4 separate regions of the Homo sapiens genome follow, and all the other regions are linked to region 1. Evidence: promoter capture Hi-C in human tissues and cell types (Jung and others, 2019). All regions are on one chromosome and are shown on one strand. Each heading gives the region's core, a stretch centred on a gene start or on the middle of the fragment in contact. The rest is flanking DNA. Distances are from core to core; before and after follow the strand shown.

The links. Contacts are between HindIII fragments. The study calls those that stand out against the background at their distance.
Region 2: a contact is called between a fragment that was not itself captured here and the fragment with the promoter of KRTAP5-1 in region 1, in 1 of the 25 tissues and cell types used here (lymphoblastoid cells).
Region 3: a fragment that was not itself captured here is called in contact with the fragment with the promoter of KRTAP5-1 in region 1 in 2 of the 25 tissues and cell types used here (lymphoblastoid cells and spleen).
Region 4: a contact is called between the fragment with the promoter of LSP1 here and the fragment with the promoter of KRTAP5-1 in region 1, in 1 of the 25 tissues and cell types used here (mesenchymal stem cells).

The regions. Positions count from the first base shown.
Region 1 is chr11:1,580,932-1,587,929 of GRCh38, reverse strand. It overlaps KRTAP5-1 (keratin associated protein 5-1), which reads left to right and starts at 2,647. Exons shown (of 1, transcript NM_001005922.1): 1 at 2,647-3,588. The coding sequence starts at 2,681. The coding sequence ends at 3,517. The region is part of intron 1 of KRTAP5-AS1 (KRTAP5-1/KRTAP5-2 antisense RNA 1); the gene reads right to left. The HindIII fragment of the contact is 15,838 bases long and covers 1-6,998 here.
Region 2 is chr11:1,223,107-1,228,962 of GRCh38, reverse strand. MUC5B (mucin 5B, oligomeric mucus/gel-forming) reads right to left here. Exons shown (of 49, transcript NM_002458.3): 1 at 5,770-5,856; 2 at 3,226-3,282; 3 at 2,687-2,758; 4 at 2,087-2,348; 5 at 1,818-1,932; 6 at 1,565-1,655; 7 at 1,182-1,288; 8 at 198-399. The coding sequence starts at 5,839. Among named protein-coding and RNA genes, the nearest start is that of MUC5B, 3.0 kb to the right of the region's middle. RefSeq lists enhancers at 3,965-4,662, 4,663-5,358, 5,359-5,856. The HindIII fragment of the contact is 5,077 bases long and covers 1-4,285 here.
Region 3 is chr11:1,316,667-1,323,664 of GRCh38, reverse strand. No RefSeq gene overlaps it. Among named protein-coding and RNA genes, the nearest start is that of TOLLIP-DT, 10 kb to the right of the region's middle. The HindIII fragment of the contact is 8,078 bases long and covers 300-6,998 here.
Region 4 is chr11:1,851,834-1,858,831 of GRCh38, reverse strand. It overlaps LSP1 (lymphocyte specific protein 1), which reads right to left and starts at 5,748. Exons shown (of 11, transcript NM_002339.3): 1 at 5,635-5,748. The coding sequence starts at 5,687. RefSeq lists enhancers at 3,377-3,806, 5,657-5,976, 6,968-6,998. The HindIII fragment of the contact is 16,836 bases long and covers 1-6,998 here.

The DNA of each region.
Region 1 (6,998 bases), core at 1,398-3,897:
AACTTAGAATAAATGACATCTATGTTAAGAAGAAACACAGGAGGATGAGGCAGGAGAATTGCTTGAACTCGGAGGCAGAGGTTGCAGTGAGCCGAGATCACACCACTGCACTCCAGCCTGCGCAACAGAGCGAGACTCTGTCTCAAAAAAAAAAAAAAAAAAAAGAAGAAGAAGAAGAAGAAGAAACAAAAGGCTGGGCGCTGTGGCTCTCGCCTGTAATCCCAGCACTTTGGGAGGCTGAGGCAGGTGGATCATGAGGTCAGGAGACCAGCCTGGCCAACACGGTGAAACCCTGTCTCTACTAAAAATACAAAAATTAGCTGGGTGTGGTGGCACGTGCCTGTAATCCCAGGGGAGACTGAAGCAGGAGAATTGCTCAAACCAGGGAGTCAGAGGCTGCAGTGAGCCGAGACCATGCCACTGCACTCCAGCCTGGCAACAGAGCAAGACTCCATCTCAAAATAAAAGAATCCAGAAAATTCAAAGAACTTCAGACACCAATAAAAATAATAATGATCTTGGCCAGGTGTGGTGGCTCACACCTGTAATCCCAGCACTCTGGGAGGCCGAGGTGGGTGGATCACTTGAGGTCAGGAGTTCAAGACCAGCCTGACCAACATGGTGAAACCTTGACTCTACTAAAAATACAAAAATTAGCCAGGTGTGGTAGCACATGCCCGTAATCCCAGATACTCGGGAGGCTGAGGCAGGAGAATTGCTCGAGCATGGAAAGCGGAGGTTGCAGTGAGCCGAAATCGCACCATTGCGCTACAGCCTGGGAGACAGAGCAAGACTCTCCATCTCAAAAATTAATAATAATAACTATCTCAATTTTGTAAAGTGGGCCAAGGACGTGAAATTAACGAGACTCTAATGACAGGTGACCATATGGAAAGAGGCACAGCATGGCTAGTAACCAGGAAGAGGGAATATTAAACCACAGTGTGTAACACTGTGTTACACACCCACATGAAGGGTGTAAGTTGACAGTTGCAAGTTTTGGTGGGGGTGCCAGGAAACAGGAGCTCTCTGGCAATGCTGGTTGGACAGCAGCTGGCTGGGGGGATCCCTTGGGAAGACAGCTTGGTAACAAGAACCTCCTGACTTTCAGGCACCCACACCTGCAGGAGGGGTTTTGGGCAAGAAAGTTGCAGCTTGCTTGAAATAGCAACAAAAAGGAAACAAAAGGTCCATCAACAAGTAAATGGATAAGTCAATGTATATTTAGAAATCAGAGAAAACAAATAAATTAAAACCATATGTATCCCTAGAGAAAATCTCTTTAGCCTAACACCTATTTTTTTCAAAAGCAATTTACAGAAAGAGAAATACAGTGTAATACCCATTACATAAAGTTTTCAGCATGTAAAATTTTTTTTTCTTTTTTCTTTTCTTTTTTTTTTTTTTTTTTTGAGATAGAGTCTCACTCTGTTGCCCAGGCTGGAGTGCAATGGCGTGATTTCAGCTCACTGCAACCACTGCCTCCCAGGTTCAAGCGATTCTCCTGCCTCAGCCTCCCGAATAGCTGGGATTACAGGCACATGCCACCATACCTGGTTAATTTTTGTATTTTTAGTAAAGACGAGGTTTCACCATGTTAGTGAGGCTGGTCTCAAACTCCTGGACTCAAATGATCCGCCCACCTCAGCCTCCCAAAGTGCTGAAATTACAGGTGTGAGCCACCGCGCCTGGCCACAAAACATTTTTAAAGGAACATACATATTAAGTAGGAGTGTGAGGACCTTCATGAGAGTGGTGAATTCCAAATTCAAGAAATTATTAGGGTGGGACAGAAACAATATGGAGAGATGGAGGAACAGAGACTTCATTTATTTATGCCATTTTTTCCCAAGTTGAGTAGGGTTTTTTTTTACATTTTTTAAATATATTACTCTTTATACCATCGTTCAACTAAAATAGATCACTTTTTTTTTTTTTTTGAGACAGAGTCCCGCTCTGTTGCCCACACTAGAGTGCAGTGGTGTGATCTCTGCTCACTGCAACCTTCACCTCTGGGTTCAAGCCATTCTCCTGCCTCAGCCTCCCAAGTAGCTGGAGTTACAAGCATGCACCACCATGCCTGGCTAATTTTTGTATTTTTAGTAGAGATGGGGTTTTGCCATGTTGGGCAGGCTGGTCTCCAACTCCTGACCTCAAATGATCCACCTGCCTCGGCCTCCCAAAGTGCTGGGATTACAGATGTGAGCCACCACACCCAGTTAATTTTTGTGTTTTTAGTAGACACGAGATTTCACCATTTTGGCCAGGCTGGTCTCCAACCCCTCACCTCAAGTGATCCACCTGCCTAGGCCTCCCAAAGTGCTGAGATTACAGGTGTGAGCCACCATGCCCAGCCTAAAATAGATGCTTTTGTAAATCCAGTGTGACTCTGGAGTCAACAGGGAGAGGCTAGACCCTTGGGGGCCTCCATTAAGTCTGGACACAGATTCAGCAAGAGAGCAGCAGCCCACTGAGCAGCCCATACACCAAGGGGCGGATTTCTAGAGGAAACAAGAAAAAGGGGCCCTAAAAATGGCACAAACAGGAACCAGGAAATGTGTGCCCAGCCTCACACATGACCCTGGGCAGGGATATAAAGGGTCCAGGCTCAGGGAGCTCCACACCTGCACCTCCCTCTCACCTGCTCCTCTACCTGCTCCACCCTCAATCCACCAGAACCATGGGCTGTTGCGGCTGCTCCGGAGGCTGTGGCTCCAGCTGTGGGGGCTGTGGCTCCGGCTGTGGGGGCTGTGGCTCCGGCTGTGGGGGCTGTGGCTCTGGCTGTGGAGGTTCTGGCTCCAGCTGCTGTGTGCCCGTCTGCTGCTGCAAGCCCGTGTGCTGCCGTGTGCCAACCTGTTCCTGCTCCAGCTGTGGCAAAGGGGGCTGTGGCTCTTCTGGGGGCTCCAAGGGGGGCTGTGGCTCCTGTGGAGGCTGCAAGGGGGGCTGTGGCTCTTGTGGGGGATCCAAGGGGGGTTGTGGCTCCTGTGGGGGCTCCAAGGGGGGCTGTGGCTCTTGTGGGGGATCCAAGGGTGGCTGTGGTTCCGGCTGTGGGGGATGTGGCTCCAGCTGCTGTGTGCCTGTCTGCTGCTGCAAGCCCATGTGCTGCTGTGTGCCAGCTTGTTCCTGCTCCAGCTGTGGCAAAGGGGGCTGTGGCTCCTGTGGGTGCTCCAAGGGGGCCTGTGGTTCTTGTGGGGGCTCCAAGGGGGGCTGTGGCTCCTGTGGAGGCTGCAAGGGGGGCTGCGGTTCTTGTGGGGGATCCAAGGGGGGTTGTGGCTCCGGCTGTGGGGGCTGTGGCTCCGGCTGCGGTGTGCCCGTGTGTTGCTGTTCCTGTTCCAGTTGTGGCTCTTGCGCGGGGTCTAAGGGAGGCTGCGGGTCATCCTGCTCCCAGTGCAGTTGCTGTAAGCCCTGCTGCTGTTCCTCAGGCTGTGGGTCATCCTGTTGCCAATCCAGCTGCTGCAAGCCCTGCTGCTCCCAGTCCAGTTGCTGTGTCCCCGTGTGCTGCCAGTGCAAGATCTGATTTCTGGCTTTGCAGGACTCTTACCATGGCCAGGCATTCCTGCCCAGCCTTTACCTCCTTTTCCTGGCACCCAGTGAGCCAGACTCTCCTTCCCCACCCACTACCCTATCTCCCACCCTCCTGCCTTGCCAAGCATGAACACTTCTCTTTGACCTTCTACCAAGAAATGCCATGGGCCCATGCATCCAAGAAGAATGACTTTCAAGGCCTCCCTTCCAGGCATCTGGAGACCAGCCCCCCACCGCCCCAGCCACCTGCAGCAAATGCCTATCCGCAAGCCCTGCCTGCTGGCACCACATCCAGCACGGACAGCCCTGCAGGACAGCCCAGGGTGCTTGCTCACTCTGCAGTCACTAGGAGTTCAGATCTCTGTCCTTTAAACATCCAATAAACCGCTCACCCCAGCACCCCATAGCTGTCTTGGTATATTTATGTTTATTTCCCTCTCGAGGCAGGTGGGGGGCATCTGTGGCTACACTGGGTCCCCTGGGAACCACACACACACACACACACACACACACACACACACACACCGGCCCTGAACCAAACCGGAGCAGGCAGGTGGGCGCCCTGGCCAGCAGGGATCCTGGATACATGGTGGCGGTCAGAGGCAGGAGCACCAGCAGCCACCTGGCTCAGCCCCTTGCCGTGCAGCCTCTACCACACCCTCTCAGCATCTGGCTCAGGGCGGGGGTGCCTTGCCTTGATCAGGCAAAAGCAATCACTAGGGGGTCATCATGGCCTGTTACCACGCGGTCTTATTCTCTTTGGGCTGATGTAACAGAACACCATGGACTGGCATGTACAACAGAAGTGTATTTCTCAGGGTTCTGGAAGCTGGCAGTCTGAATTAAAGATGCCGGCGGCCAGGTGCGGTGGCTCATGCCTGTAATCCCAGCACTTTGGGAGGCCGAGGGGGGCGGATCACCAGGTCAGGAGATTGAGACCATCCTGGCTAACACGGTGAAACCCCCCTCTCTACTAAAAATACAAAAATTTAGCCGGGCATGGTGGCAGGCGCCTGTAGTCCCAGCTACTCAGGAGACTGAGGCAGGAGAATGGTGTGAACCCGGGAGGCGGAGGCTGCAGTGAGCCGAGATCGCGCCACTGCACTCCAGCCTGGGCTACAGAGCAAGATTCCGTCTCAAAAAAAACAAAAAACAAACAAAAAAAGCCAGAAGAATGCAAATATGACATTCCAGAGGGGATGTATATGGAAGGTCAGCAATCCCATTGCAGCAACCAGAGAAGGCCACATTAATTACAGAACTCAGATGGTAAAATAAATAAATAAATAAATAAATAAATAAATAAATAAATAACTTCAGGAAATCCTACCGTATGTATCTTACCACAATTTTTTTTTTCTGAGATGGAGTCTCACTCTGTTGCCCAGGCTGGAGTGCAGTAGTGTGATCTCCACTCACTGCAACCTCTGCCTCCTGGGTTCAAGCTATTCTCCTGCCTCAGCCTCCTGAGTTTCTGGGACTACAGGCATGAGCCACCATGCCCAGCTAATTTTGTTTTGTTTGTATTTTTAGTAGAGATGGGGTTTCACCATGTTGGCCAGGCTGGTCTCAAACTCCTGACCTCAAGTGATCTACCTGCCTCACCCTCCCAAAGTGCTGGGATTATAGGCGTCAGCCACTGCATCCGGCCCACAATTTTGAAATACCGGAAAAATGTATCTATAAAAAAGACATTGGAGAACTGTAGAAGCAACAAGAACCAGATGAAAACATTCAGAGAGAGCCCTTCCAAGATGAGCTGAATGTCGGCTTCTCTCCCTTTAAGGAATTAACCAGTGCTGGGTATGAGCTGAGCCTCGGTCCCACTGGGGAAGAGGAATTCTACTGGGAGAAATACCCAGCAGGGCTCTTGGCAACCACAGGGGCTGGAGCAGAAAACTGGGACATTTGCAAATTTCTGGGGAGGCTAAGAAGTGAGGCCTGAGGCCTCCGCAGGTGCGCTGAAGTCTCGCATAGCCTTGTGGAGCTTAGTACACAGAGCTTTTCTAGAGGAAGGGGTCCTGCCCCAGGCACAGGTTAATCTGGCCCTTAAGACATTTTCCAAATTTTGAAGCTGCCTGAGCAGACAACTAAAGAGCTAAGCCTGTACCTCAGGGAAAGAAGTGACTCTCTGACAGCCTGTCAGGGATAAGAAGACACGGACTGGCCAGGCTCTTAACCAAAACTCCAGGAAAGCCACACAGAGGGACGATTGACTGAAGTGGCCCAATCCCTAACTGAGCGGGTAGACGAAATGTTCAGCTCCTCTCCCTGTCTGCACTAGAGAGGGAGGCCACGTGCTCACTGTTGGAAGAGAGCAGCTAGACCCCCACAGTCCTTAGATGGAGACCCCCACGGTCCCGAGATATAGACCTCCACGGTCCTTAGATACAGACCCCCATGGTCCTGAGATATGGAGCCCCACGGTCCTGAGATATAGACCCCCACGGTCCCGAGATACAGACCGCCACAGTCCTTAGATATAGACTCCCACAGTCCCTAGATATAGACCCCCACGGTCCCTAGACACAGATCCCTACGGTCCCTAGATACAGACCCCCACGGTCCTGAGATACAGAACCCCACGGTCCCGACATATGGTCCTTAGATATGGACCCCCACGGTCCCGAGATATAGACCCCCCACGGTCCCGACATATGGACCCCCATGGTCCCTAGATATGGACGCCACGGTCCTTAGATATAGACTCCCACAGTCCCTAGATATAGACTCCCACGGTCCCGAGATACAGACCCCCACGGTCCTGAGATACAGATCCCCACGGTCCTGAGATATGGACCCCCACGGTCCCTAGATATAGACCCCACGGTCCTTAGATATAGACTCCCACAGTCCCTAGATACAGATCCGCACGGTCCCTAGATACAGATCCCCACGGTCCCTAGATACAGACCCCCACGGTCCTGAGATACAGAACCCCACGGTCCTTAGATATAGACCCCCACGGTCCTGACATATAGACCCCCCATGGTCCCAAGATATGGACCCCCACAGTCCTTAGATATGGACCCCCACGGTCCCGAGATATAGACACCCCCACGGTCCCGACATATGGACCCCCCACGGTCCCTAGATATGGACCCCCACGGTCCCTAGATATGGACCCCCACGGTCCTGAGATACAGAACCCCACGGTCCTTAGATATAGACCCCCACGGTCCTGACATATAGACCCCCCATGGTCCCAAGATATGGACCCCCACGGTCCTTAGATATGGACCCCCACGGTCCCGAGATATAGACACCCCCACGGTCCCGACATATGGACCCCCCACGGTCCCTAGATATGGACCCCCACGGTCCTTTGAGGCATACCTCTGACAGAAAGCACGAGATACAGGACACAGCAGGAAACAGTGATCAATAATCATGCGGAAAGCTAACAGAAGAAGCAGATTACAGATAAGCCACATATTGGAGTTAGGAAACAAGGGCTTTAAAATAACTATGAT
Region 2 (5,856 bases), core at 498-2,997, 360 kb after region 1:
CTCTCCTTCTCCTGCAGCCCCCGGAGGCCCCACCCCCTCCTGGGGTCCTGGGGTGGCCTCTGCCCACTATGCCTGGGGTGGGTCCTCTGCCCTCCACCCCTGTCCCCCAGGCCTCCCCACCCCCAGTGGCCCCCAAGGCGCTCCCCCTGCCCCTTCTCTCTGGCACAATCCCTGGCGAAGGCCCTGGGAGCACTCACGGCAGAGCTCAGGGCACCTCCAGTTCCGCGGCTGGCCCCCCGCGTGGGCGCACTGGCGTGAGTATTCCACAAAGGTGGCACACGGGCAGGTGGGGCAGCGGCACAGGTCCTGGGCGCAGGCGGCCAGGTACGCAGTGCTGTCCACCAGTGCGTGGCACTCCGCAAAGGCCGGCCCCAGCAGGGTGCGGTGGCAGATGCCCTCCTGGGGAGCACAGTGGGCCAGGCTGGGCACCCCTGCCATCCATGGGGGCTGCCACGGTGCTGGAATAGGACCCATGGCAGGCCAGGCCGGGAAGCCCTCTCCCTGTCGGGGTTCCTTGTACCCAGCCCCACCCCTTCCACCCACTGTGGCCATGCAGAGCTCTGCTTGGCCCTTGGGGAGTGACCCGTGACCGGGGATCCCCTACTCCGGATGTGCCTGCCCGTGGAGTAAGCGCCCAAGAAAGGTGCAGACCCCCACCCCAGGAGGCGGAGCCAAGGAGGGGAGGTGGAGGCCCCGCCTCTCTGGGCAGCCCGGCAGGTTCAGGGCAGTCCAGTGCTGAGTGTCCTCCGTCCCCAGGCCCAGGGCTGCCGGCTGCGGGGCCCAGCTCACAGGGGGGCTCATGCTGTCATTCACAGCACAACTTAAGGCTCAGAGATCCTGCTGGTTTGGGGATCCTGGAGCCTCCAGGCCCCTTCTGAGTCCACCTGCTGGTGGGAAGGGCTGGCTCCGGGCTTCCCGAGTGCCCACCCTCAGCCCAGCCTGTGCAGCATGGGCCTGTGTTTGCTCACACAGATGGGCACACGCGTGGCCTGATGAACACGCACGTCACCACACTCGGACAGTGTGTACCGTGGAACTGAGCACACAGAGGGTGGCTGCCCGGCCTCCCTCCAATGGCACCATCTCTCCACCAGCTGGGAACATTCCTCAGACCTCGGCCCAGCTCCCCCTGGACCTGGAGGCCGTCCCTGCCCAGGAGCTGGGGGTGGCGGGGGACTCACCTCGTCCGTGCAGTTGCCGGCCGGCAAGGGCAGCGGGTCCGGGCACTGCTCCGTGGGCCCATCCAACTTCTGCAGGTTCCCAAACTGGAGCGGGGTCAGCCTGGCGTCTGCCGGGAAGAAAGCAGGGGTGTGGTGGCTCTGAGGGGCTCCTGGGGACAAGATATGGGCTCCCACTTCCTGAGCCCAGGCCAGAGGACTCCCACTCCTGCCTAGGGCCCAACACCCCCGAGGGGCACTCCTCCCACCATGTAGGGCACAGTCCTCGTGGCCCCTCCCTGCCTGGTGCCCGGTCCCCACTCCGCCCCCTCCCGGCCTCCCCGGGACTGTGGCTCTTCGTTGGCCGACATAATTGGTCACCGCCCCCTCACCCAGGTGGCACTCACTGTGGGCATAGAACTCGTTGAAGGCCGGGAGGCCGTTGAAGTCCCCACACAGGCCACAGGTCTGGTTGGCGTATTTGGGATCCAGCTCCAGCTGAGAGTGGGGAGGGGCAGCTCCAGCCTCAGGACCTCTGATCCCCACACTGGCAACATGCCCCAAGCCCCGTGACCCCAAGCCCAGGGAGGCATCCCTCGACCCCCGGTGGGGGTTTTGTGGCCAGGCCTGAAGGGGCAAGGGGCGAGGGGGCTTCCTCACCAGGGCACTGTCCTCTCCGTTCCACAGGAATGTCAGCACCAGCCGGATGCTGACCTTGATGTAGTCCCCGCTCTGCTCCACCAGGAGGCCAGTGCGGCTGTAAGGCAGCTCCTCCCTGCGCAGACAGCGGGGTCTCTCCCTGGGCCCCGCTCTCCTGGCTGCCTGCCCACCCAACCCCCCCCCAGCCCTGGCCCAGGTCAGACATGGCCGTGTGGGGAGGTCACACTGTGTGGCCCGGCCCTCGCCCCTCCCCAGGGTGGCCGGCTCACCGCTGCCCATTGATGAGGACGGAGCCGTTGGACGCCTCCAGCACCAGCCCCTGGGCCTTGATGACAACACGGGTGACCACAGGCCTGGAGCCCACTAGGCCTCGGCGTAGCTGGACGTTGAAGTCCTCGTAGGCGGCGCGGCAGTGCTCAGAGAACACGTAGTTGCAAAGGCCAGGGAAGCGGAAGACGTCGCCGTCGAAGGTCTTGTAGTGGAAGTCACCCCAGGTGCTGCACACCCGCCCATTGTGCGCCGGGTTCAGGGCTGTGGGGAGCGCGGGATGAGGCCCATCCCCATGCCAGCCCCCCACGGGGTAGCCTCCCCTGGGCCGAGGCACCCTGGTTTTTGGAATGGAAAAGCCCATGGTCGGCTGCTGGCTGTGCCCTGCCTGGCTCACCCTGGACTGCGTCTGTTTTGCTCCAAGACCCCTGACCCGTCCCCATCCCCCAGGGTGGCCAGTGACCAGGAGACCGCCCACACGGAGGACTCTGGGTCTGGCCCAACGGCCCCACCTGGTGGCAGCTGCACCCCTAGATCTGGGCCCCCACCTTTGGGACTGGCAAACACCCCCTTCCCGGCTGGCAGGGGCAGCATCTGCTTACGGCTCAGGCTGGGGAAGACAGTGACGGGTGGAACAAAGCTCACGCGCCGGGTGGGCGAGGACGTCGGGGCACCTGTGGGTGAAGGCTGGTCACCCCAGGAACGTGGCCAGGAAGGGGAAGCAGAGACACCCTCCCCGGGGCCCACCCTCCTCGCCAGCCACCAGAGTTGAAGGGGAGCCCAAAACTGATGGGCTGGGGCCAAGGCAGCCCCTTTACCCTTGGCCCTGTCTGCCCCACAAACACTGCTGCCCTTGTGTTTTGGCCTGTGTGTGCACACATGTGTGTGCCAGTGTAAGTGTGGGCACGCATGTGCCTGTCCACGCGTGTGCTTCTGTGTGCATGTCTCTCTGCTCTGCACTTTCCTCTTCTTTGGAGCACCAAGCTCCGCCTCGGGTGCTGGGTATTGTCCTGGGCAGGGGACCCAGGGAGGGTCTCTGTCAGACGCATGGCTGCTTGGAGAGGCGTCTGCCTGCCCCAGCCCAAATTCCAGCCCCTCCAGCCTGGTCAGGAACCCCCCACCCCCGAACCTGGCCACATACCGCCATCCATGGTGTGCCCTGCATTCTCCCAGCTCGGCTCCACAGGGCCCTGGGTCTCTGTGGGAAGAGGGAATGGGAGTCAGTGAGGAACTAGATGTGGCTGCCAGCCACGAACCCAACCACGGACCTGGCCACATCCCTGGTGCGGCAGCCGCATGTGGGGTCCTTGGTGGCGGTCTCCATGCCCTGCAGGTTCACCCTCACGACACACTGTGGCCAAGGCCGGGACTCCTCCCCAGCCGCTCAGGCCACCCCAACCGTCAGCCGCAGATGCCTCCGCTCCTGCTCAATGCTATGGAAAGCCTGCGGGATGGAAGCTTCCAGCAGGGAGCCCTGAGCTGCCCCCAGCACGGCCTGCCCTGTCCCCGACTGACAGGCGGGGATGGTGCCTCCTTCTCAAGGGATGGGGGAGAAAATGGAATCAGGAAAAGGCGTTGGCCGCCCCAAGGGGGGATTTCGCCCCATCCCACACATCCCTTGGAGAAGGACAAAGACCAGCTTTGTTAGGAGGACACACTTGGAGCCTTCCAGGCGTGACTTAGCAGAAACCTAAACACAGAACCAGTTTCGAACTAGATCCTAAGTCAGGGCGAGTGGGGCAGGCTGGGGGCAGGACTCTGGGCCGCGCAAGCTGTGTGGCCGTTGATACTGGGATGGCCGCCCAAGGTCCCCCAGGCTGACCACCGCCTCCGGGCAAGGCCTCACCCACCAACCCCATGGAGGCTGGGAGGAGGCAGCTCCAACCCACAGGACTCTGAGGACCCCCGGCCATTGTCTGCCCAGTTTGGGTTGGGGCGCCCCCTTCACAGGACCCCAGAGCTCCTCCCTGGATCCTGATCTGAGACTCTCTGTGGGGAGGTGGGAGGTGAGGCCCCAGCCCCCACAGCATGGTCAGGGCTCAGCGAGGGGCCGGCCCTGTGGTTCGCACTCTGGCCTGGCCCTGCCTGGCTTTTCCAGCCAGGTCCTGCTGACATCTGGGAACCACCACAGGGGCCGCCTCCAGAGATCCAGGTTGACTGCCTTTCCCAGAAAGCCAGCCGATCCCTGAGTCCTCCACCCCGACCCACAGCTCACAGCCCTGCCCCTGTGTGCCAGCCCAACCAGCCACTCCCACGCCCCGGCTCCCGCCGCAGGCAGCCCCTCCCCACCCCAGCAGCCCCTCCCCAGCCCCAGGCAGCCCCTCCCTGGCCCTACAGCCCCTCCCCCGCCCCAGGCAGCTCCTCCCCTGCCCCAGACAGCCCCTCCCCAACCCAGGCAACCCCTCCCCCCCAGGCAGCCCCTCCCCTGCCCAGGCTGACTGCCCTTGGTTATCTGCTCCGTGCAGTGCCCTCCTTGGGCTGGACCACCTGGGCCTCCATCTTGTAGCCAGAGAAGTGCCCACCACCAGCCACCCCATCACTTTGGGGTGTGTCCCCTAACATGAAGCTGCTCTGTGCAGGGCTGCCTTCCCCGGCCACAGGACGTGCATCTGGTGACTAAAGCACAGTCCCTGCCAAGGGCTTGATCTCCCCAACTTGGACGTGCGTGGAGGACAGGAGGACGGGTGGGCTGAGAGTCCCTAGGCCCTGCCTGCTCAGGTGAGGGGAGCCAAGGCTGCATGGCCCGGAAGAATCAGATGCAAGGAGGTGGCTATTCTGGTCAAACCAGCCCCCAAACCTTGCAGCCAGACGCAGCTCCCCCCGGGCCCAGGCTGGGAGCCACTGGGGGAAGCCCCCTGCCTCCAGCCCTGCTGACCACCCAGCCTCCCTTCCACAGATGGAGAGAGACCCCAGGGAGCCTCACCTGCCCAGCCCAGACCCCAAGCTTGGGAGGGGGTGGAGGGCGGGGCAGGGAGGGGCTGCAGCAGCCTCATGGCCAGCCCGGCTGGGTGTCTCCCGGTGGCCCCTGGGGCTGCATCTTTCTCTATTGACAGTAAGTATTAATGCTGCGGCTCTGGCCAAGAGACAGCAGACGAGGGAAAACGCTCGGCTGAGAGCCAGGCAGCCCGTGCGGCATGAGATGCCCACAGATGGGCCGTGGGAGTCGAGCGTGGGTTGAGGCCGGGGCTCTTGCGGCTGGCTGTGCAACCCTTGAGGGTGGTACCCTCACCTGCCCTGCCAGCTGTGATCCCCAGGGAGGTCGTGAAGGGTAGAGCCGGTCCTGGACAGGGGTCCACGCTAAGCCTGCCCCTGCTCACTCTGATGCCTGGGCCTCATGGGGCTCCAGAGAGACCCCCAGCTGTGACCCCCTCCCCCATTGCCCACTCCTGTCCCACCCCCAAGACCAAGACCCTTTCGGTGGTCTCCCAGGGGCCTTGCCCTGCGGTCAGGGGCCCACCTTCTCCTGGACACCCCATCCAAGCCAGCCCCTGAGTTTCCTGACACTGTGAGCCCGTGGGGCCCCAGAGCCCTGTGTTGGGGACGGGTAGGGTCCCATCCAGGACACTCAGGGAGTCGTAGGGGGATCTGCCCGTGCACTCTGCAGGAGAAGCTCCCAGGCAAGCGACCTGCAGAGACCCCCGCCGTGAAGACAGCATCGAGAGGGGGCGGAGTGGGGGGCTCTTACCTGCCTGCGGCACCACGAGCATGGCCGCCAGAGCCAACACCAGCGTCCGGCACGCGCTCGGGGCACCCATCCTGGGGGCTGGCACGG
Region 3 (6,998 bases), core at 3,089-5,588, 270 kb after region 1:
TTAAATTTGTGAAGGTGTGCTTCATGGCCCAGAATATGGTCTATCTTAGTAAATATTCCATGAGAGCTTGAGAAAAATGTGCATTTTGCTGTTGTTGGGTGATTTAATCTATAGGAGTCCATTATATTCAGCTGATTGATGGTCCTGTGGAGTTCAGCTATGTCCTTACTTATTTTCTGCTGGCGGTATCTGTCTATTTCTGACAAAGGGTGTTGACGTCTCTAAAGTGTATTCCTCAGTTTTAATTAGTCTTTGTTGTTGTTGTTGTTTTTGTTTGTTTGTTTTTTGAGACAGAGTCTCACTCTGTTGTCAAGGCTGGAATGCAGTGGCCTGATCTCGGCTCACTGCAACCTCCACCCTGCAAGTTCAAGCGATTCTCCTGCCTCAGCCTCCCAAGTAGCTGGGATCACAGGTGCCTGCCATCGTGCCCAGCTAATTTTTGTATTTGTAGTAGAGATGGGTTTTCACCATCTTGGCCAGGCTGGTCTTGAACTCCTGACCTCGTGATCCACTTGCCTTGGCCTCCCAAAGTGCTGGGATTATAGGTGTGAGCCACCGCACCCGGCCGATTAGTTTTTTCCTCATGTATTTTGATGTGCTGTTTTTAGACAGATATGTTTTAAGGATCGTTATATCCTCTTGGAGAAGTGATTCCTTTATCATCACGTAATATCCTTCTTTATCCCTAATAATTTTCCTTGCTCTGAAGTTTGCTCTGTCTGAAATTAGTATAGCTACTCTAGTTTTCTTTTTCATCATGGTATATCTTTCTCTTTCCATTTACCTTTAATCTATATATGTCTTTTTATTTATTTATTTATTTATTTATTTATTATTTATTCATTTTGAGACAGAGTTTCATTCTTGTTGTCAAGGCTGGAGTGCAATGGCGTGATCTCAGCTCACCGCAACCTCCACCTCCTGGGTTCAAGCGATTCTCCTGCCTCAGCCTCCCAAGTAGCTGGGATTACAGGCATGCACCACCATGCCCGGCTAATTTTGTATTTTTAGTAGAGACTGGGTTTCTCCATGTTGGTCAGGCTGGTCTTGAACTCCTGACCTCAGGTGATCTACCACCTTGGCCTCCCAAAGTGCTGGGATTACAGGAGTGAGCCACCGCACCCGGCCTATATATGTCTTTATATTTAAAGTGAGTTTCTTGTAGTCACCATATAGTTGGGTCTTATTTTTTAATCCACTTTGACAATCCCTGTCTTTAATTGGTATTTTTAGACTATTGATGTTTAAAATGATTATTGCTATAGTTGGATTAATATCTACCATGTTTGTTGCTATTTTCTATTTGTTGCCTGATATGGTTTGGCTGTGTCCCCACCCAAATCTCATCTTGAATTGTAGCTCCCATAATTCCCACATGTTGTGGGAGGGACCCGGTGGAGTTAATTGACTCATGGGGGTGGTTTTGCCCACACTGTTCTCGTGGTAGTGAATAAGTTTTATGAGATCTGATGGTATTTTAGTGGAAACCCCTTTCATTTGGTTTTCCTTCTCTCTCTTGCCTGCCACTATGTAAGACATGCTTTTGCCTTCTGCCATGATTGTGAGGCCTCTCCAGCCATGTGGGACTGAGAGTCCATTAAACCTCTTTTTGTATATAAATCACCCAGTCTCAGGTATGTTCTTCATCAGCAGCATAAAATCAAACTAATACATTGCCCTTGTTCTTTGTTACTATTTTTGTCTCTACTCTTTTTCTGCCTTTTGTGGTTTTTACCAAGAATTTTATATGATTCCATTTTCTCTCCTTTCTTAGCATATCAATTATACTTCTTTTTAGATTACTTTTTTTTAATGGTTGCCCTAGAGTTCACAATATACATTTACAACTAACATAAAAGTCCTCTTTCAAATAAAACTATACTGTTTCATGAATAGTGCAAGTATGTTATAATAACAACATAATTCTAATTATTCCCTTCCAGCCCTGCATTATTGCTTTATTTTGTGTAATTACTGTGTAATTACACTTACACTTAAACTATAATCATCAAATATATTGTTGCTATTATTTTGAACAAGCTATTATCTGTTAGATGAACTAAGAATAAGAAAAAGCTATTTTACCCTCAATTATTTCTTCTCAGATGCTCTTCCTTTCTTTATGTGGATCTGAGTTTCTGACCTGTATTATTTTCCTTGTGTCTGAAGAACTTCTTTTAGCATTTCTAGCAAGGCAAGTGTACTGGCAACAAATTCTCTCGATTTTTGTTTGCCTGAGAAAGTCTGTGTTTCTGCATTACTTGTGAAGGATTTTCACAGGATACAGAATTCTAGCTTGGTTCAGTTTTATTTTCCTTTCAACACTTTAAATATTTCACTCTACTTTCCTCTTACTTGCATGGTTTCCAAGGAGAAGTCAGATGGAATCATTATCTTTGCCCCTCTATAGGTGTATTACTCTAGCTTCCCTCAGGGATCTTTCACTTTCTGTAGGTTGCATATGATATAACTAGGTATAGTTATTTTGTATTGTTTTTGTTTTTTGTTTATCCTTCTTGGTGTTCTCTGATCCTCCTGAATCTGTTGTTTGGTGTGTGACAATTAGTTAGGAGAAATTCTCAGGCATAATTACCTCAAATGTTGCTTCTGTTCTTTTTTTTTTTTTTTTTTTTTGAGATGGAGTCTTGATCTTGTTGCCTAGGCTGGAGTGCAATGGTGTGATCTTGGCTCACTGCAACCTCCACCTCCCAGGTTCAAGTGATTCTCCTGCCTCAGTCTCCTGAGTAGCTGGGATTACAGGTGTCCACCACCAAGCCTGGCTAATTTTTGTATTTTTATTTTATTTTATTTTTTTTGAGACGGAGTCTCACTCTGTTGCCCAGGCTGGAGTGCAGTGGTGTGATCTCAGCTCACTGCAAGCCCTGCCTCCTGGGTTCACGCCATTCTCCTGCTTCAGCCTCCTGAGTAGCTGGGACTACAGGCGCCCGCCACCACGCCCGGCTAGGTTTTTTTTGTATTTTTAGTAGAGACAGTGTTTCACCGTGTTAGCCAGGATGGTCTCGATCTCCTGACCTCATGATCCACCCGCCTCGGCCTCCCAAAGTTCTGGGATTACAGGCGTGAGCCGCTGCACCCGGCCCTGTTCCTTTCTTTCTTCTCCTGCCGGTATTCCCATTCCCATTACACATATTTACACCTCTGTAGTTGTCCCACAGTTCTTGGATATTCTGTCCTGTTTTTTTCAGGCTTTATTAATGTAGCCTCAAGTTCAGAGATTCTTTCCTCAGCCATGTCCAGCCTACTAATAAGCTCATCAAAGGGAATTTTAATTTTTATAGCCACTATTCTTATCTTTAGCATTTCTTTTTTATTCTTTCTTAGAATTTTCATCTCTCTGCCTTCATTTTCCATCTGTTCTTGCACGTTGTCTACTTTATCCACTAGGGCCCTTAGCATGTTAATCATGGTTGTTTTAGATTCATGATCTGATAATTCCAACATTGCTATCACACCAGGGTCCAGCTCAGTTCTGGTGCTTATTCCATCTCTGCAAATGGCATTTTTGTTTCTTTGTTTTGTTTTTGACTTTTAGTACGCCTTGTAATTCTTTGTTGAAAGGCAGACATGATTCACTGAGTCAAGGGAACTACAGTAAATAGGCCTTTAGTAACATAGTGGTGAGGTGTGAAGAGAAGGAAAGCATTTTACAGGCCTGCGATTAGGTCTCCCGGTGAGTCTGTCCTGCTGGGTTGTGAACCTCATAAGTGCTTCTCAGGTTTGTTTTTTGTTTTTCACCCCTTTAGGCGGCACAGTGTCCATAAGGGGAGCTGGAGTTGAGGAGTTCCCTCCTCCAACATGGAAAGCTAGAGGGAGCTGGAGCTGGGCATTTTCCTTCCCACAGGTCAGTGAGGTTCTGATAAAACCCCAGTAGGGTAGGCTCTGGTAAACTAGTTTCTGCTGAGGTGAGGCCTTTTTAAGAAGAACAGAATGTTTTAACCTATTTCAAAATGGTTCCTTTTCCTCTCTGCCTGCTGTAAACCCCGGGAGATTTTTCTCTGCTCTTCACTGCGAGAATCTGGTAGAATTCCTGGAGGTAAAACTCACAAAAGCAGAAATTGGGGGGCGCCTCATGACTGTGGGGTGCTGAAGACTGACTCGGTCCTCCTGAAAGAGCAGGGTGAGGGGGGCTGATGACTGTGGGGGGCTGATGACTGCCTAGATCCTCCTGAAAGAGCAGGGTGGGGGGGTCCTGATGACTATGGGGGGGCTGATGACTGTTGTGGGGGCTGATGACTGCCTGGGCCCTCCTCCTCCTGAAAGTTTTCCCTCTCAGACCTGTGGACACTGAGCCTCCAGAAATTTACGAACTACAGTTCAGGTTTTCCTCCTCCAGTGCTGGTTCTTGCAGAGGTGGATCTCCGCTTTGGTAAGTTGTGATTGTCTGTATCCACCTGTTTATCTCTCTAATTTTCGGGGCAGCAGTTTGCCCAGAGAGCTCACTTCTGTGATGGTTCTAAGAAAAGCTGTTGATTTTTCAGGTTTTTTTTTTTTTCAGCTGTTTGCTTGTTGTTAGGTCAGAGCATCAACTTTTTTTTTTTTTTGAGACAGAGTCTCGCTCTGTCACCCAGGGTGGAGGGCAATGGTGCAATCTTGGCTCACTGCAAGCTCCGCCTCCTGGGTTCACACCATTCTCCTGCCTCAGCCTCCTGAGTAGCTGGGACTACAGGTGCCTGCCACCATGCCTGGCTAATTTTTTTGTATTTTAGTAGAAACAGGGTTTCACCGTGTTAGCCAGGTTGGTCTTGATCTCCTGACCTCGTGATCCACCCGCCTTGGCCTCCCAAAGTGCTAGGATTACAGGCATGAGCCACCGTGCCCGGCCCAGAGCATCAACTTTCAAGCCCCTTACATGATGGACCCGATTAGTTATCCTTCTGAGTATGCCATCGGCTTCATAATGGGCCCTTGACTGATACAGTCATTGGTATCGGAATTGGTCCCAAGAAACAGACTCTCAGAATGGGATTCCAGGACTGGATTGCTCATACATTTGATGAACACGGGGATAAATCCTTGCTGGGGGAAACAGAACACTGGGAGCTCACATCACACAGTAGCACCTCAGTTCCTCACGTTCTCATCAACAGCAGCATGGGGCACCATGCACGTGGAGGGAAAATAGATGGGGAATCACATGGCTGAGACACGCAGTTGCTTCAGCAAAAATGGGGATTACAAAGACTGTGGAATGGGCTGGCTTCCTCTGACGGCTCCAGAAAGCGTTCACAAAGGAACAGGACAATTCAAGCTTCGGATGTGCCAATGCCTCCAGCGAAAGACCACTGGGAACACACCTGTAATGGAGCAAGCTGGGTTTATCACTCGTTGCAGTGAAGGAGAGCACACACACACCCTGGAGAACTACAGGTTAACTTCGTAAGAGGGCACCGGAAAGGACTTACAGTGGCATTGGGGCTTGTGGAGGTATTCTGGGGAGGGTTTAAGGAAGTGGGGTTTTGTTCTGGGTTTGATGCAGTCAGGAAGCAGGGGTAGTTCCATGAGTAGGCTTCTTTTTGTTTTTCCTTTTTTTTTTTTTTTTTTCTGTGAAGGAGTTTTGCTGTCCTTACCCAGGCTGGAGTGCAATCGTGCCATCTCAGCTCACTGCAACCTCCGCCTCCTGGGTTCAAGCAATTCTCCTGCCTCAGCCTCCGGAGTAGCTGGGATTACAGGCACCTACCACCACGCCCGGCTAATTTTTTGTATTTTTAGTAGAGACTGGGTTTCACCATGTCGGCCAGGCTGGTCACGAACTCCCGACCTCAGGTGATCTGCCCACCTCGGCCTCCCAAAGTGCTGGGATCACAGGTGTGAGCCACTGCACCTAGCTGATTAGGCTTCTTAGTAATTTTTCTCTAGAAGGAGGGAAGAGTAGGCGGAGGCTAAAGTTGTAGTTAGTAAAGCAGCAGCTGTCAGACTGGCCAGGGTAGGTGATGTGGTCATTTGTCTTGGACAGTATTCAGACGTGATTAGAGAGTGGTGTGTTTTTGTACTGAGGCGTCACAACCACAGACTGGCTTTGTATGACGCGACTCTCCAGCAAAGTCGATATGTTTAACAGAACACGGCGCCCTAACTGGGAGTGCCAGGCCAGCTCATAGCAACACCAAGGCCTCGCTAAAAGAGAGCCTTTTCACCTCTTTCTCTGATGGAAATTGGGAAAGCCTCAGTGCAGACTTGACAGGAACTTCTTATCTACACCACCTTCAGGGCGGATAGGGCTGAGGCACTTAGCAAAGAAAAGGAGAACGTGAAATGGATGGTGGACTAAGGAAGCTATGAGTATCACCACAGGCCTCATCACAGATACAGAAATGGAGAATAGAGCAGTTGTATATTCTGTTTCTGGTTATTGTTTTCCCTAACAAGTCACAGTTGGTAGCTAATGCTTCAATTCTTGCTGTAGGTGGCAATATATCTTAGTTGACCCACCCATGAAAATATGGTGGCGAATGGCACCTTGTATTTCTCCTATGCTGGGAACACAGGGCTTTTTGTCCAGAACAAAGAATAAGAATCTAAGTAAAAAACAGTATAAAGAGACAAAGAAGGTGGCTGGGTGCAGGGGCTCACGCCTGTAATCCCAGCACTTTGGGAGGAGGCGGATGGATCACCTGAGGTCAGGAGTTTGAGACCAGCTTGGCCAACATGGTGAAACTCTGTCTCTACTAAAAACACAAAAGTTAGCTGGGCGTGGCAGCATGTGCCTGTAGTCCCAGCTACTTGGGGGGCTGAGGCAGGAGAATCGCTTGAACCTGGGAGATGGAGGTTGCAGTGAGCCGAGATTGCGCCACTGTACTCCAGCCTGGGCAACAGAGTGAGACTGTGTCAAAAAAAACAAAACAAAACAGAGAGAGAGACAAAGAAGGTTATTATATAATGATAAAGGGATCAACTCAGCAAAAGGACTAGCAATTCTACACAAATATGCACCCAACACCAGAGCACCCAGATATATAAAATCAACACCATTTAATCTA
Region 4 (6,998 bases), core at 4,499-6,998, 270 kb before region 1:
ACGGCTAGGAGGCCTGGCTTTCTCAATCCCCTAATCTCCTATCAACCCCACCCCCATGCAGCCCCTCCAACCTCTTTTCAGGTCCCTAGATGTTGGGGAGGGGATGGGGGCTGGGCCGGCTGTAGAGAGTCTAACCCTGGGGAAGGGGCCCTGCTGGGCTGCCCCCTGGCCGAGCCTCTCCAGCCCGCTCGCTTCCCTCTCTTCTAAGTATCAATACAGCCTCGTCCACAGCCAGGGCCTGGTTCTGTCTGCCTCAGCGCATGTGGAAAGCCCTCTTCGATTGCCTTATGGTCCTGGGCTGCCATCTCCCAGAAGGTCTTTAGTGGCCCCCAAAAAGATGCTGAGGGCTGGGATTTGGGCGGGGCTGGGCTGGAGGGAAGTGGAGGACCTTGCTGGTCCTGCAGCGCCCGGTCCCAGTTCCGCTTTTCGGGACGGTCCCTTTAAGTGCTTGCTGAGCTTGGGCCATGAGCAGTGCTCTGGTGCTCTTGGGAGCCTTTGAGTCCAGAGTGGCTGGTGTGTGGTGTGGGGTCAGAGAGACCCCGGGAAGGGCAGCCCAGCCCAGCTCCCTCCTGGTGCCCGCAGGTCTTGTGGGCCCTCAGCACCCGAACCCCACAGGGGCAAGGACTCAGGCCCCTCCCCAGGCAGGGAGCAGCCCTTGGACAATGCACTTGGCCCCTGTGAGCCTCGGTTTCCGTCTGTGAAATGGGAGGCTCCAGGGACCTGCCTCACAGCTCCGGGGGATGAAACAAGAGCCTTGGTTTAAAAAGCTTGGCAAAGGCAGGGCGCGGTGGTTCATGCTTGTAATCCCAGGACTTTGGGAGGCTGGGGCGGGTGGATCACCTGAGGTCAGGAGTTCAAGACCAGCCTGGCCAACATGGTGAAAGCCTCTTCTCTACTAAAAATACAAAAATTAGCCGGGGGCAGTGGCAGGTGCCTGTAATCCCAGCTACTCAGGAGGCTGAGGTGGGAGAATCTCTTGAACCTGGAGGGCGGAGGTTCCAGTGAGCCGAGATTGTGTCACTGCACTACAGTCTGGGCAACAGAGCGAGACTCTGTCTCAAATAAATAAATAAATAGCTTGGCAAAGACTGGCATGGAGTGAACGCTTGGTCTGAGTGGCTACATTCTGAGTGTGCAGATGGGGAAACTGAGGCTTCAGAGGGGTGCGGCTTACTCATCCAGAAAGCACTCCGAGGGCCTATAGCAGCCGAAGCAAGGCCAGCCCTGGGGCCTTGCAGCCCATCCCCCTCCCGCCGCCCCAGCAGTGGGATCTCAGGGGCTGGGACTGCAAGGCAGAGCTCACGCCCCCACCCCTCACCAGGCTGAGGACTCAGAGCGGGAGACCACTGGGCCCTTTCCACTGCCAACACCCTCCTCTTCTCTAGGGCTCACCCATCCCTCTGGCACGTTCTCAGGGAACTGAGGTGGAGACAGGCTGGCCCGTAGGGTAGCGGAGCAGAGGCCCACCATCCTGCCACCCCAGGGTGTCACCGGCCAGGGCCTGTCCCAGCTGGACCCCAGACCCTCCTGGCACTGCCCTTGTGTGGCTCCAGGATTGTTTTAGGAGACACGAGGGAACCAGGAAGGGGGCGCAGGAAGAAAGGATTCTGGCTTCCAGAATCAGCGGGGGTGGGGCCTGTGATGCTCCCACTTGTGCGACCAGCCCAGCTGGGTGTCGGTGGACAGCAGCGCCTGCCAGCCCACGAGGAAGAAGACATCCTTCTGCTTCCCTGGGAAACTTCCAGATGCCTCAGACCCCTTACCCAGGGCAGGAGGAAGGGGACCTCCCCAGGGATCCTGGGTCCAGACATCAGGTCTTGACCACAGGAAGGTGTAGGGAGGGAGCCCCAGGGCTTAGCCCTCAATCCTAACCTCCCTCAGCAGCCCCTGTGGGGCTAGGGCTGGGGCTGAGGTGGCTTCCCCAACTGTCCCCAGCTCTGCCCTCTTTCCTGAGCAGTCGTGGGCACCGCTGGGGGCTCTCAGGGCCACCTGCCCCAGCGTGGAGCATTGCACATCCTCCAGGTGGTGCCTGGCCTTGGCTCGGAGGGCAGGTGGGCGGGAGGGCTGCCCAAGGGCCTGGCTGCCTGGGGGGTTCCATCCCATGGGCTCCTGCTGCTCAGATGAAGACTTCCAGGGGGCTGCCGGGGGCCTCCAGCCCCTTCCTCCTTCAGAATCTGGAGCTCTGAGGGTCTCCAGGGACAGATGGCCAGAAGGAACCCTGCCAGAGCAGCCCCTCAGGTCATCCCTGCCCTTCCCAACTCAGCTCAGCACACAGAGAAGCGAGGGAGGCTCCGATGGGCCAGGCGGGGCTCCAGGACTGGCCCTGTCCATGGCAGGTGCTGCCAGAGCCCTGGGCAGCGGCCTCCCACCGCGGGCTGGGCAGGCCTTTGAAGGTCTGCAGAGGAGCAGGGCGGTTGGGTGATGCTAGGAGGGGCATGTGCCAGGGCTCTGACACCTTCCAAAACTGGGAAGAGCTGGGAAAGCTGGTGGGATGGGAAGTGAGTTCAACCAGGCCAGGAGGGCCTGGCATGGCCACCCAGGGGCATGGAGTTTGCCTGTAGCTGGTGAATGGTTCTTTCCGTGGGAGACACGGCCTGGTCGCTCATGGGGAACAGACTGGGGGTAGGGTCATCCTGATGGGGGCCTGGGCTACACAGGGGCAGACTGAGAGGGCAGCCAGGGTGTCTGTGGGACAGGGTGGCGGCAGGCAGACTTGCCTTCTAGGTGTGGACATGGGGTGGGCACGCCTGGGCGGGTGGGCACCCCCGGGCAGCTGGGCCAAGGACAGGCACTGCAGCCAAAAATGCAGTGTGACCCCAGGGAGGGTACACCCCTGCAGAGCTGGGCTCCAACATCTGGATATGTCGAACCCAAGGTCTGAGAGGGCAACCTGACCCTCCCCAGCTGTGGACCAGGACGCCCCGTCCTCATCGCCTCAAGGCCTCCAAGGCCAGATAGTTCCTCAGTGTGGGGAGAGCCTTGCTCTTGGGGGCTATAGAGGGCAGGCATCCCCCAGCGTCACCAGAGAGTCCCCCCAGAGCCACAAGGCAGCTCTGTGAAATCCTCGTCCCTGCCCCCAAGGGACAAGGACAAGCTAGTGACTGTCTGCTGGACAGCGGGGCGAGACAGGAGTGCCCCCGAGTGGAGGAACCGCAGTCCAGCCTGGCTGGTAGCCGAAGCGGAGCCTGGACCCCGCCCAGGGTCAGGGGACCTTCTTTGGCCTGAGGCCTCGTGGGAGAGGACAGTCCTGTCCTGGGGGCATCTGAGAGACCACATCATGGAGGGGTGGTTCTGAGGAATCTGGCCCCGTCCCGGGCAGTCTGAGGGGAGGGGCCACATCATGCGACAGTCTGAGGGGCTGGACCCACTTGTCCAGCTGGAGGGGCTTGGCCTGCCCTGGACCTAGTGTTGAGGGCATGTCCTGAGACCGTCACAGGCTGGCGTACCTGGCACTCTGTGACATGCACGGGGGGCTGTCTTGTCCACTGCTCCAGCCCCAGCTGAGCCTGCCCAGCCTGGGCCTTCCTGGGGACTCCCGTGTGGGGGCTTCCCAGGCCATACATCCCTGCCTGGGTGCAGGGGACTTCTGTCCCATCCTAGACAGGAAACTCCCCGGTTCCCTTAGTCACCTTGTGAAATGAGAAGCCTACCCCACTGGGGCTCTCAGTTTCATTCTGAAAGGTCAGGCTTGGCTGCGCACCCCATGCAATTCGCGGGGGCAGGGGATGTCCAAGGAGGGGGTCCAGGCTTTGCAGAGCCCAGGAGAACCGCCGCTCTCCAGCTGGAGCGCCTGACAGCCCCGGCACAGGTGCAGCCCTGGCCTCCCAGGATCTGCACCAAGATGCCCCAGGATCATCTGTGCCTTGGCCATGCCCGCTCCAACCCCCCCTCCCCGCTCCTGGCCCGGGGGATCCAGGGCATTTGAGACAGCTGGGAGGGGGTGGCCAAGGATGAGGCCAAGGAGGAAGGCGGGGGTGCCCCAGCCCAGAGGCTCATGTCCTGCCCTTCTATGGGCATGAGGTGACCAGGAGCAGCACCTAGTCCAGGGCTGGGGGTGGTGCTGACAGGAGGGCCCGTTTTGCAGCTGGGACACAGCTGTTGTGCACCCAGAAGCCTGTCTCCCTGCACACGGCCTGGGCAGGGCATCCTCCCACCTCTCCCTGGGGACAGGCACGGACGTCCCGACCCAGCCCTCAGCCAGCCCCGGCCTCTGCTTAGCCTCCACTCCACTCACGGCACTCGGGGTCCCTTCAGTGGCCCCCCGCACCTGTACCCAAGTGGGATTTGGCAGCAAGAAGTCAGAGATGCAGACCCCTCACACATACCAGACCCACAGCAATGTGACGGCCACCAAGGACACAGACACAGGACAGTGACTGCAGCCACCAACAGCACAGGAGCTTTGTGTGAAGGCCGGGAGGTGGTCCCTGCACCGCCCCGGGTCGGGTAGACCGGGACCCTCTGCTGTCAGCACCAAGGCAGAGACTGGTAGCAGCCCTGGCTGCAGTTTTGGGGTATGTGAGCGTCACCCTGGGCCTCCTCTCAGGTCCGTCCTGTGTGGCTGCGGGCATCACACTCTTTCTGCAACCTGGGCCCCAGCGCCTTCCCTTCCGCACACCAGGCCACAGCCCCCGCTGACCTGCTCCTAGGCCGGCCTCTATCCCCAGCACCGGATCCCCATCCCCTGACCATTAGCACGTCGCCCCTCTGCCCCTCAAAGCCCTACCTGTCCCTGCACCGCACGCCCTGAGCCCTCCCATCTCTTCTGGGACCTGCACCGGGGGCAACTCGGGTTCCCCTGGCGAGGCTCAGCTGTGATGCCTGGATGCCTGCTGGCCGGCAGCTCCCCTCTGCCAGGGAGCCCAGTTACTAAGCCGCTAGCCCTCTCCACCCACCCCAGCACAGGGCTGGATGCCCATTGGTACCACAGAGTACAGCTGCCCGCTAGGAGGCCTTTGGCAGCGGGGTTTTTCTGCCCAGCTCTGGCAGTCCTACACACAACCTCTGCCATGCCCCCTCATGTCCCCACTCCAACCAACACACGGTGCCTGGCACCCAGCACAGGCACCTGCCAGAATCCTTGGCCTTGTCCTTTACCGCAGGTCAAGGGCAGCTTTGGGTGCCCTGCCCTGAGGCCTGCTGGGCCCCAAGCCTGGCGGCCTCCAGACCCTCAAGGCAGGATAGCCCCTCTCAGATAGTCCTGTGGGCAGGTGGCCAGGCCCGGGCCAGTTCCACCCATCCCAGAACAGCTGCTCCCCAGCCCCCACCTTGCCTCTTCCCAAGCTAACAGGGCCCACAGTCCCCAGCTCCTCCCTGGCAGTCCAGGACACGTCTTGGGGTCTCCTCGCTTCAGGCATCCACCATGGGCTTAGGATCCCACGCGCCTCCCCCAGTGAGTCCAGGGCACAGAGGCAGGCGGAAGAGACCTCCACCCTTGTTGTGAGAGGGGGGTCCCAGCAAGACTTCCTGCCACCTGTCTGTGGGTCCCCAGTTTCCCCATCGGACATCCAAGTTCTCCCATTGGGGGCCCCAGATTCCCCATCAGGCACCTCAGTTCTCCACCCTCCATGCAGCTCAAGGACTATGCACCCGTGGACACGGCACAGGGCGCCGGGCGTCGCCGCAGACCCTTACCCCAGCAACTCTTCCCGCTCCTCGGCACCCGGGTCACTCGAAGCCTCCGCCATCAGCCTGTAGTCTGGGCCCCACAGGGTGCTGGCAGATCCCTGGAGTGGGTGTACGTGCTGTGGCTTTCAGTGCTTTCTGGGGCGGCTTCTGAGCCCCCACCCCCAGCCGAGTTTCACTTCCCCCTTCCGGCTGCAGGTTGAGGTTTGGAACCTGTCTCGGCTTGGGTCAGGGTGTTGTTTTTTAATCTGTTGCTACAAGAGGAGAGGAAGAAAAAAAAAAAAACCCAAACCACCCCTCAGGAAGCGTTAAGCAAGTTACAGGGGCCTGGGGTGACAGAGACGGGGTGCGAGGGCCAAGATGGCCGCAGGCAGCTCTTCATGGCTCGGGGAGGGGGACCCATGTTACCCCTGGTCCCCGCTAGTAGCTCTGGCCATCAGGTCCACCTGTGAGTGGCCAGTTCTCCTGCAGCATCAGGGACAAACACGTCTGTGATCCCATAAGCACCACGTGAGCGTTTTAGCTTCTTTGGGTGAAATCTACCCAGAGGCCGGCTCTCCTACAGGTGCTCATGGAACTTGGTGGAGTCTTTTCTCGAAGCCTGGGGTCATAGCCTTGAGCACATCAAACAGCTGTGGGTCCCAGGTGGCTTTGGGGGCTGTGCCCGGGATGCCCCTGCGTTCTACCCGTCGGGTGCCTTGTTCTGTCTTGGACTGCCTTGCTGATGCCGAGCTGTCGGGCATCCGCCTCGTCCCCCCGCTGCCCCTTGCTCTCCGTGCTCTGGTCGCTGGAGTTGACCACCGAGTGGTTCGTGTCCCCAGGCTCTAAAGGCAGTGCCTCAGGGACCCTCCCAAGAGGCATAGGCCAGCCCGAGGGGAGGGATGGAGGCTGTTTCCAGCCCTCACTGTCCCCAGCTTCTGGGAGTGACCACGCAGTGGCTCCAGGGTCAGGAGGAGGGATGCATGACTGCAGGAGCCAGACCCCAAAAGCTGAGGCAGGGGAGGACTTAAGCTGGGCCAGAGTAGGGCAGCCACAGAGGTGGCGAAGGCTTCCCTGCTGGAAACCTCAGCGCAGGAGAATGGGAGAAGGGAGCCCTGGCCAGCGGCTGGGCCTGAGAAATCCAACCAGCAAGGACTTACAGGGGGTCCCAAGGCAAAGAGGGGCTGGAGAGAGGCCAGGGGTTGGGAGGGCCCTGGGCCCAGAGTGTTGACCCATCAGGGTGGGGCCGAACCGGAGGCCGCCTCCTTGGGACTCAGCGAGCCCCCCACCCACCAAACACACCACAAAGACCAGCAGAGGCTTTCAGAGCCCCACGAGTGGAGGCACCAGAGGGATCCGTGGCCCAGACGATGGGCAGGGCTAAAACCAGATCA